Linked DNA regions of Homo sapiens: region 1 is linked to region 2. The links are contacts of gene promoters, found by promoter capture Hi-C in blood cells and fetal thymus (Javierre and others, 2016). All regions are on one chromosome and are shown on one strand. Each heading gives the region's core, a stretch centred on a gene start or on the middle of the fragment in contact. The rest is flanking DNA. Distances are from core to core; before and after follow the strand shown.

Evidence for each region. The method cuts DNA at HindIII sites, captures the fragments that hold promoters and counts their contacts. A CHiCAGO score of 5 or more calls a contact.
Region 1: a fragment that was not itself captured here is called in contact with the fragment with the promoter of ARAP2 in region 2 in 1 of 17 cell types (non-activated CD4 T cells); the score reaches 6.9 in non-activated CD4 T cells.

Annotation. Positions count from the first base shown.
Region 1 is chr4:48,126,972-48,131,214 of GRCh38, forward strand. All of the region lies in intron 1 of TXK (TXK tyrosine kinase), which reads right to left. Among named protein-coding and RNA genes, the nearest start is that of TXK, 5.2 kb to the right of the region's middle. RefSeq lists enhancers at 168-1,030, 2,552-2,671 and a silencer at 381-675. The HindIII fragment of the contact is 7,843 bases long and covers 1-4,243 here.
Region 2 is chr4:36,242,051-36,246,312 of GRCh38, forward strand. ARAP2 (ArfGAP with RhoGAP domain, ankyrin repeat and PH domain 2) reads right to left here and starts at 2,464. Exons shown (of 33, transcript NM_015230.4): 1 at 2,129-2,464. LOC439933 (a long non-coding RNA gene) reads left to right here and starts at 2,066. Exons shown (of 5, transcript NR_122079.1): 1 at 2,066-2,161; 2 at 3,122-3,260. RefSeq lists a silencer at 2,260-2,839. The HindIII fragment of the contact is 5,605 bases long and covers 1,327-4,262 here.

The DNA of each region.
Region 1 (4,243 bases), core at 89-2,588, about 12 Mb after region 2:
ATATTTTCAAAAATTCTTATGTTTCCTGATTCAATAGCAAAGACAATGGCCTTTAAAGAAAGATACAGACCTACCCTACCACTGCTTTAATTATGACCCAATTTTATTTAATTTCCCTCAAAGTCCAAGAACAGTGGTGAGCAGGAAGGCAAACCACTGCTTTGTTTGTGGTTCCATCCTCTGCCCAGCAGAGTTGCTGCCCAATAAATAATCATTGCGAGAAGAAAAATCACACTATGAAAGCCAAACAGCTCCCTGGTGTTCCCTTGCTTGGCATGACTTTCCAAGACAGCAGGCATCTTTATTTACAGGTTGAAGTGTTGGGCCAAAATTCATTCCAATGCAGGTATCAAGGAGTATTCATTTCATGATCATTTTCAATTTACAGCAGCACAGGTGTTCCCAGTAAGTAAATAGACAGCGCCCTTCCACAGGCATTCTGTGATTACAGAAGCCATTCTTTGAATTGTTTTGCCGATTAACCTGCAGAGGGAAAGCTCTTGAGCTTTTAGCAAATTCCCAACTTAGGCAGGAACTCATGCATATCAAGGGCCTTTGCCAGAGTGACAAAAATGCCCCAGAGATAGGCAATGACTATTTGCCTGCTGGAAGGAAATGTGGAAAGAATATATTCGGGCTTGAAGATTATCACTGAAGGAGCTGAGCTTCCTCTCCCAGGCTTACATCTGCGCTGTTCTTTTCATCTACTTCTCATTCCTCAGTAAATATCTCTAATGATGAGCCTCAGGCCAGCAAATCAGAAAAAGGGCATCGCATCAGATGTAATCTCTGTGACCTTTAGAAACCGGCACATCTGTCATGGGATAGGCAGTTGGCCCTCCCATCTTTGGTATTTGTGTTTTTTCCTTGGAAGGATTTGCGCCCCTCTGTCCTCTAGGAGAGGCTCCTATTGACATTCCTTCCACCCCCAGAGGTTCCTGGGTGGCAACAGCTGGGCTGATTGGGAACAGGTTTCCACCAGGGGGCACTGGAAGAAAGCAAAAGTGAGAAGCACCCCTTCTCAGAATAGCTCCTAAGGTCATCTCTGAAGAGGACAAAGGAACAGATGTGAAGAACTGTGGGGCCCGGGCTGCGCGGGAAGCAAAGCCGCTGTCGCTTCCTCATGTCTAATGTTTTGAAGTTTACATCGTCACCTCCAGTTCATCCCCTGGCATTTCCGATGTCAGGGTTTCGTTTTGAATCAGTGCCTTGAGTGAAATGCATTCCTACTGAATTTGGTCATCATAATAACTGGCACATGGCTAGTGATTTATATTTAAAAACATGGCTTGAAACTGGCTCAGTTTTGAGAGCTGCCTTAACCCAAAGACCAGGCTTGTTGCCCAAGCCAGGCGCTCCAGGTTGTGGTTTTAAGATGAGGAATGTCTGATACCGGCTGCTTTTGCAGTTGATGGGCTGTGGTGAGTGGGGAAAGCCTTAAAAACTTGTGGCTTTGGAAAAATGGCTCTGGGTGACCAGAGCTGATTCTGTAAGTTTGCTGCAACATATCCTTTTTGTTTTTTTTTCCAGAAATTTACAGAAAGGCCAAACTTCCTCATTACTCTGCCATAAATGCCCACCACTACATCCTTTTTTTTTTTTTTTTTTTTTTGAGATGGAGTCTCACTCTGTCTCCCAGGCTGGAGTGTGGTGGCACGATCTCAGCTCACTGCAACCTCTGCTCCCGGGTTCACGCCATTCTCCTGCCTCAGCCTCCCGAGTAGCTGGGACTACAGGTGTCTGCCACCACGCCCGGCTAATTTCTTTTTGTATTTTTAGTAGAGACGGGGTTTCACTGTGTTAGTCAGGATGGTCTCGATCTCCTGACCTCGTGATCCACCTGCCTCGGCCTCCCAAAGTGCTAGGATTACAGGCGTGAGCCACCGCGCCCAGCCTATCTTCAAAAGGCCCCATTTCTTAAGGGCCTTTTGAAGATAGGCACGTTTTAGCCACATTAACCCATATTATCTGGGGAGAGTGACACATAACTAGCTTGGCTATAGCATGGATGGATTTCTACCTCTGAACAGGAGTTAGAAAAGACTTCCAAGTTGGAGTTAGACTTCTTGGTTTGGAGTTAGACACCAAACCAAGACCCCACACCAAGGAGAGGGGAAAATAGTAAAATTGGGACATTGAGTTTTTCACATATTTATTCAATTTAGAAAGTTATCCTTTATTCTGAGTTTATGCCCTTTATACATTTGGGGTCTGAAGTGATCCTGTGTCTGTGTTCGCACGTGTGTGCACTTTTCCTTTTGATACTAAAATGTCCATTATTCTAAGAAGTGATGGTCTCCAGAGATGTTAGTTTTTCTAAATGTATGGATAAAATAAGTGAGTAATTTGTGTTAGACCTTGACTGTTCTGTTTTTTTGACATTATACTGCCAGTGAAACCTTAAAGAAGGGAGGATAACTACTTTAGGGGAGTCACTGGTGACTAAGAGAAAACAAGTACCTAGCTAACAGGACACCAAACTGATCAATTTGAGTGGAAGAGTGGTGCTTGACCTGTCTATGGCCTGAAGGGGTGCTGTGTGGGGTGAGGAGATTCTAGAAGCCTGGCAAGCTGGATGGAGTCCCGGGCACCAGGGAAGACAATGTTTCTGGGAGTAAAAGGTGCTGTAAGGAAAGGCAGAAATCTTCCTGATGATGACCGCTCATCTGTTTCCCAGCTTCTGCCAGGGCAACTCCCCAGACACGGACAGCAGCCACCCAAACCCTTGTTTGGTCTATGAGGCAATTTTTCTTTCTTTCTCAGAAGGGGCTGATGTGAGTTGGTCTTTGCAGGCACCTTGCCCACAACTTCCCCACTCCCCCACATCTCAAAACAGTGTTTCCTAGAACACTGTTTTCTGTGAGCTCAAAGTTCATAATAAGCTCGCAGACATCACACCCAAGACATCGAGCCAGCTTGTGATGTGAAGAAGTGCTTGGCCACAAGGCACACGGGCGTGGCTGGCACTGGGCCAGAAGCCGTACTGCTCACTGACCCTCGGTGGGCAGGGAGTGTGGGCACTGCTGGCCTGGGGAGCTCCACAGAGGAGAAATGTGGGGATCTGCAGTAGTTACAAAAGGCAGCTGCAGTGACGAGTTAAAAACTGAAATGATTTAAAGACAAAAGAAAAGACACATCTAGTGTCCATTTTAATCTTTCAGAAAGGGCATCAAACTCCAGCCCCAGGCAGAAGGGTGGCCAAAGTGGCCAAGTTCTTTTTTAATCTGCGGCTTCTCCTGCTTTTGCCACACACTTAGTTATCTATTGTTGGAAACAAATTATTCTGAGACCAAATGACTTACAACACTTATCTCACACTTTTGTGGGCCAGGAGTTCTGGAATGGTTTAGCTGAGTGCTTGTGTCTCCAGATCTTTCATGGAGTTGCAGTCAAGCTGGGCCCAACCAGAGCTGGAGAATACACTTCTAAGCGAATTCCAAGCAGGTCATGGTGCCTCGGTTTCTCGTGATGGGGATTCTCTGCGGGCTGCCTGAGAGTGCTCCCAACAAAGCAGCCGGCGATGCAGGAGACAGAAAGCCCGAGATCGCAGGAATGGGAGCCGCCACCTCTGTAACCTGGTCTCAGAGGTGACGTTCCATCACTTTTACCATATTCTAATCACAAGAAGTGAGGTACTAGGTCCAATTCATACTCAAGGAGGAGGACTGCCTAAGGGCGTGAATATCTGGAGGCAGATATCATCAGGCCATCTTAGAGGCTGCCTACCACAGCTACCCTCCTTATCTTCATATTCATAATAGTAATAATGGAAGGTGTTGACCTAACAAAGTTGGTGTGAGAATCAGATACAAAAAGGAGTAAGATAGGACTCTGAAAAGAGAGGCCCAAGAAAGGCAGTGTGACCAAAACATCCTTACTTTACCCTCAGATCCAGTTATGGAGATGAGCCCAGAAACCTGCCTTTTAACAGCACCCCAGGCATGCTTCAGGCACACCAAGACTTAGAAACCACTCTTTCTACTCTCTAAGTTGGGAATAAAGAAAGGCAGAGAAATTAGGCAAACAGGGGAGCTAAGAGGTGAATTCTTTAAGCCCCCAGCTGCTTTCCCTTGCCCTGTCCTTTAAATAACTCTTCTAGGCTGGATCTGTTCTCAGGGCAACTGTGAGTTGATGGAAATGCTGGCAATACCAAGTACGTTTCACAAACTGAATCTCACTGGAGCAGTGCCCTGAGACCCCACTCCAAATCTCCCATCAGTATGATCAATATCCCACGCTCCAC
Region 2 (4,262 bases), core at 1,214-3,713:
GCAAAATGGTTTAACTACCATTATATATTTAATCTGGCCAATACTTACAAGTAATAACTAAAATGATAAATTACAAGGTCCAGAACTTTGCAGAAAAGATTAAGACAGCGTCTCATAGCCTCTAATCTCACATCCACCATATGTGGTCAAAGCTAAGACATATTTCCCAGATTATTAAGAAGTTCTCTACCTAATTAATATTTCACCAAGAATTCCCAAAACTCTTACAATGTAGCATGTGCAAAGATTGTATCCAAGAAATGTATCAATAAATAAATGAGGACAGGTGGAAATGTATGCTAAAAGAAAACTATTAAAGCAATGACTATTATTTATACTTAGCATTTTTATAGTCACTTTCACCAAACTTTCTCACAGTTGCAGGGAGGTGGGTTAGAAAGTAACAAAACGAAACAACAACAACAACAAAAAACTTCTCATATATCATGAAGTCTATAACCCAGAATTCTACGTAGACTTTAAAACTTCATAGTTTCAATGCGTTAAAGTTCTTAAGAAAACTGTAATTCATTATAATCTGAGTTCTATACTTCTCCACAGTATCCAAGAATAGTTGGATCTGATATTATTGCATATCCATGAGCCTTACACTGCAAGGAGCTTGCAGTGATATTAGAAAAACAAGAATTTGTTTTTAAACGTACCATCAGCTTCTCCTTTTACAGACAAGCCACATAAAATCTGACAGGTTTACAGACGAAGGAAAAAATACAAACACAAGCACACACCCATATAAATACGTTTTAACAAGCTCTCTCACTTACCCTCTAGGTACATTTTAATTCAAATAAATCTTTGAGTACTGACAAATCTATATAAAACCCTCTTCGTGTTAGGAACCACCTTAAATGTGTATGTGTTAAATATGTTTAGAAAGAAGCCAGGAAGATATTTGCACTTAACCCTAGCCTAGTTCCATGACCCACTTTTTTTTCTTCTTTAAACGTTGTTGGACAAAAAATGTCATGAGTATTTTCTCTCAATATTTCTCCTGTAAGTGTATGGAAGTCATAAATAAGAGTTAAAAAAAAAAGAGTTTAAAGGTATTTCTCTTTTTTTCCTTAAAAAAAGTTAGCTTGCTTTTTATCTTCCAATTACTTACGGGCAAAGTTCCATGGGCCTGTGGGGGTGTAGAGTGCTTAAGTGCAGATAAATCAATACTGAGCTTGTAAGTACAATACTATTATGAGTAATAACAATGACATCCTATTAAATGTACTTTTAAAAATAGCTTATTTTCAATACACTTCTTGATTTTTTTTAAACCGAAGGCTGTATTCTACTGAACAGCCTACTTCAAGGACAAGCTTGCAAAAAAAAAAAAAAAAAAAAAAAGAATTTGCTATCAGGATACCTACTTACAACACCCTAAGATGTCATTATTCCACACAAATTAGCTTATTTTCTTGTGTTTTCCTCTAATTATCAAAGGCTATATAATCCACGAACCCTTTCCCCAAATCAAAATAACTCCAGATCACCTCAAGGTAGGAGGTGTTTAAGAAAACAAGCCAGAATTAGATAAAGTAAAACTTACTTTATTAAATAGGATGGACACCACTTCTCCCAAGAGAACTGTCTCCAAAAGTAAACAAGAAAGATCAATCTGGTAAACTCACATCATACAGGTTCCCGTGTAAGGTATCGGGTTCAGGCAGGTGGAAGCCAAATGATCGTAATTAAAGTTAATTAACAGGCCAGTCGTCTTAACGTGGTTAACAAGCAGGGTGCGGGGCAGCACAGACACCCGGGCAAATTCATGATCTCTACCGAGTAAATAACTTGGTGCCTGAAACTCACTACAGCTTCTTCTTATTTAAAGGTAGGGGAGAGGAATGGAGGGAGTGTCCAGCTGTCTATCCGGATCCTCACCCTCCCGGGTCAAATCCCAGAAGTGGAGTTCTTGGATCACTTACCGGCTTCTGGTTTCCTTTCAGACGCCCACACGCGGGAGCGAAATCCAAGGGGCGGACACCAGAGCCGAGCACTTTGCGCTGAGGAAATTTACCCGGTGAAGTGTCGAAAAGCCCCAGCCCCTCCAGACAGGGTCCTCCCACCCCCGCGTGGGCCATCCCGGCCCAGCCTTCCCGAGGCCCCGGGTACTCGCCTTGCGCTCGGGTCGCGGAGTTCGAAAAGCGAGGTGAGGCGGCGCTGGGAAGCTCAGCGCCGGCGTCTCTCCCAGCCTTGGGCGCTCGGTCCTCGCCCCTCTGCCGGAGGCGCCAGGCCTCCTCTTTCCCGGTCCCCGCCGGCTGTCCGCAGTCGCCTCTGCTGCCTGGCGGCGGCCGCGCGGGCGGCGCTGTTAGTGGGGCCGGCGTGTCGCGGCCGCCGCACCTGGAGGCGGGGAGCGCGGGCCGCGGACCCGCGCTCAGCTCCGGAAACGCCGAGCCCGGCGCCCGCGCCTTGCTCAGGTGCTCCCGCGCCTCGCCTCGGCCGCCGCTTCCTCTCCGCCCGCGGGGGCGGGGAGCAGGCGCCCCGCGCGGGGGAAGCCGGAGCTCAACGGCGGGGGCGGCCCAGCCGGCCTCCCTGGTTCCGCAGCATAGTTGGGTGACTGACTCAGACCGCCGCGACTTGGCCGCGCCTGGCACCCTCGCCACCTGGCGCACCTCGGCCCGGAGGCGTCAGACCCCGCTGGGGAAGCTGCGGGGGCGCGCCCTGGAGCCCAGAGCGACAGGGGCATTACCCACCTTCCCGGGACGGAGATGCCCAGGACCTTGTGTTGGCTCCTCCTGGCCAGTGGGTTTGTCTGTGCGCACTCATGGGGGGTTGAATGTCAAATGGGCGGAACCTCGCCACGACTGATTATTAGTATTACTCTTCCAAGTACTTAAAGTGTTAGCTCAGCGTTTCCCAAACTGAAGACTCATCTAGGGCACTATTTTCCCCAGGCTGCTTCTATGTAAATTTGCTCCTTCTTGCACCTGTGGCGGTTAGATCCCAGAGGGGCATTTCCCCTTTGAGTTGGACTCTGACAAAGGAGGCAGCGAAGGAAAATAGGGGATCCCAAAGAACCCTTGTGGACCTCCAAATATCTAAGCGTCCGTAAAATCCAGTTATTTGCAAGTGAGTTCACAGACCAACTACTTTTTTTTTTTTTTTTTAGACAGGGTCTCACTTTGTCACCCAGGCTGGAGTGTAGTGAGGCAATCTCAGCTCATTGCGCCTCCGCCTCTGGGTCCAAGCTATCCTCCCACGTCAGCCTCCCAGGTAGCTGGGATTACAGGCGCGCACCATCAGCCAAGGTAATTTTTTTTGTATTTTTGGTATAGACGGAGTTTCGCCTTGTTGCCCAGGCTGGTCTCAAACTCCTGACCTCAAGTGATCCACCTGCCTCGGCCTCCCAAAGTGCTGGGATTACAGGCGTGAGACACTGCCCCCTACCAGCTTTTTTTTTTTTTTTTATAAACATCTCCCACAGACTACCTGAAATTCTCTTCATTAAAAGGTGAAATGTATTTATCTTTCCCCTGTTCCTGTTGATGGAAGTGAAGCAATTAAGGAAAGCGCAGACCTTATGAAAATGAGATAATTGGTGAAGTGCGGAAAGAGAGAGGCTTCCCACAAGCCTGGGCCCTTAGGATTCTTCAGTCATCACCTTCACCCACACTAACTACCTGCCCAAAGCACCGTCTTTCCCTGGGGAGACTCTGAAGCAGCTCTGTCTTACTAGAGACACCAAATATCCAGTTCCTTTTGAACTTAATACCTCATAGCCGACCTCATTTCCACCAGGAAAGTTTTATTGACATTTTCCAAACCACGGGAACTTTTTCTCTGGATTCCTATAGCATTTATAGGAGGAATTTTATTTATGTGGCTCTTTTCTGGCTTCATTCTCTGTGTGTGTGTGTTTCTTTTGTTCTTTTTCCCTTTTCCCTCTCCAAATTCTCACATACTTCTCTCTTTTTTTTTATCTCTCTCTTTTTTGTTTTTGTTTTTGTTTTCGACTGAGCCCCGCTGTATCGCCCAGGCTGGAGCGTGGAGAGCAGTGGCGCGATCTCAGCTCACTGCAGCCTCCGCCTCCTGGGTTCAAGCCATTCTCCCGCCTCAGCCTCCTGAGTAGCTGGGATTACAGGCATGCACCACCACGCCTAGCTAATTTTCGTGTTTTTAGTAGAGGCAGGGTTTCACCATGTTGGCCAGGGTGGTCTGAAACTCATGGCCTCAAGTGATTCGCCTGCGTTGGCCTCCAGAAGTGCTGAGATTACAGGCGTGAGCCACCATGCCTGGCTCTATTTTTATCA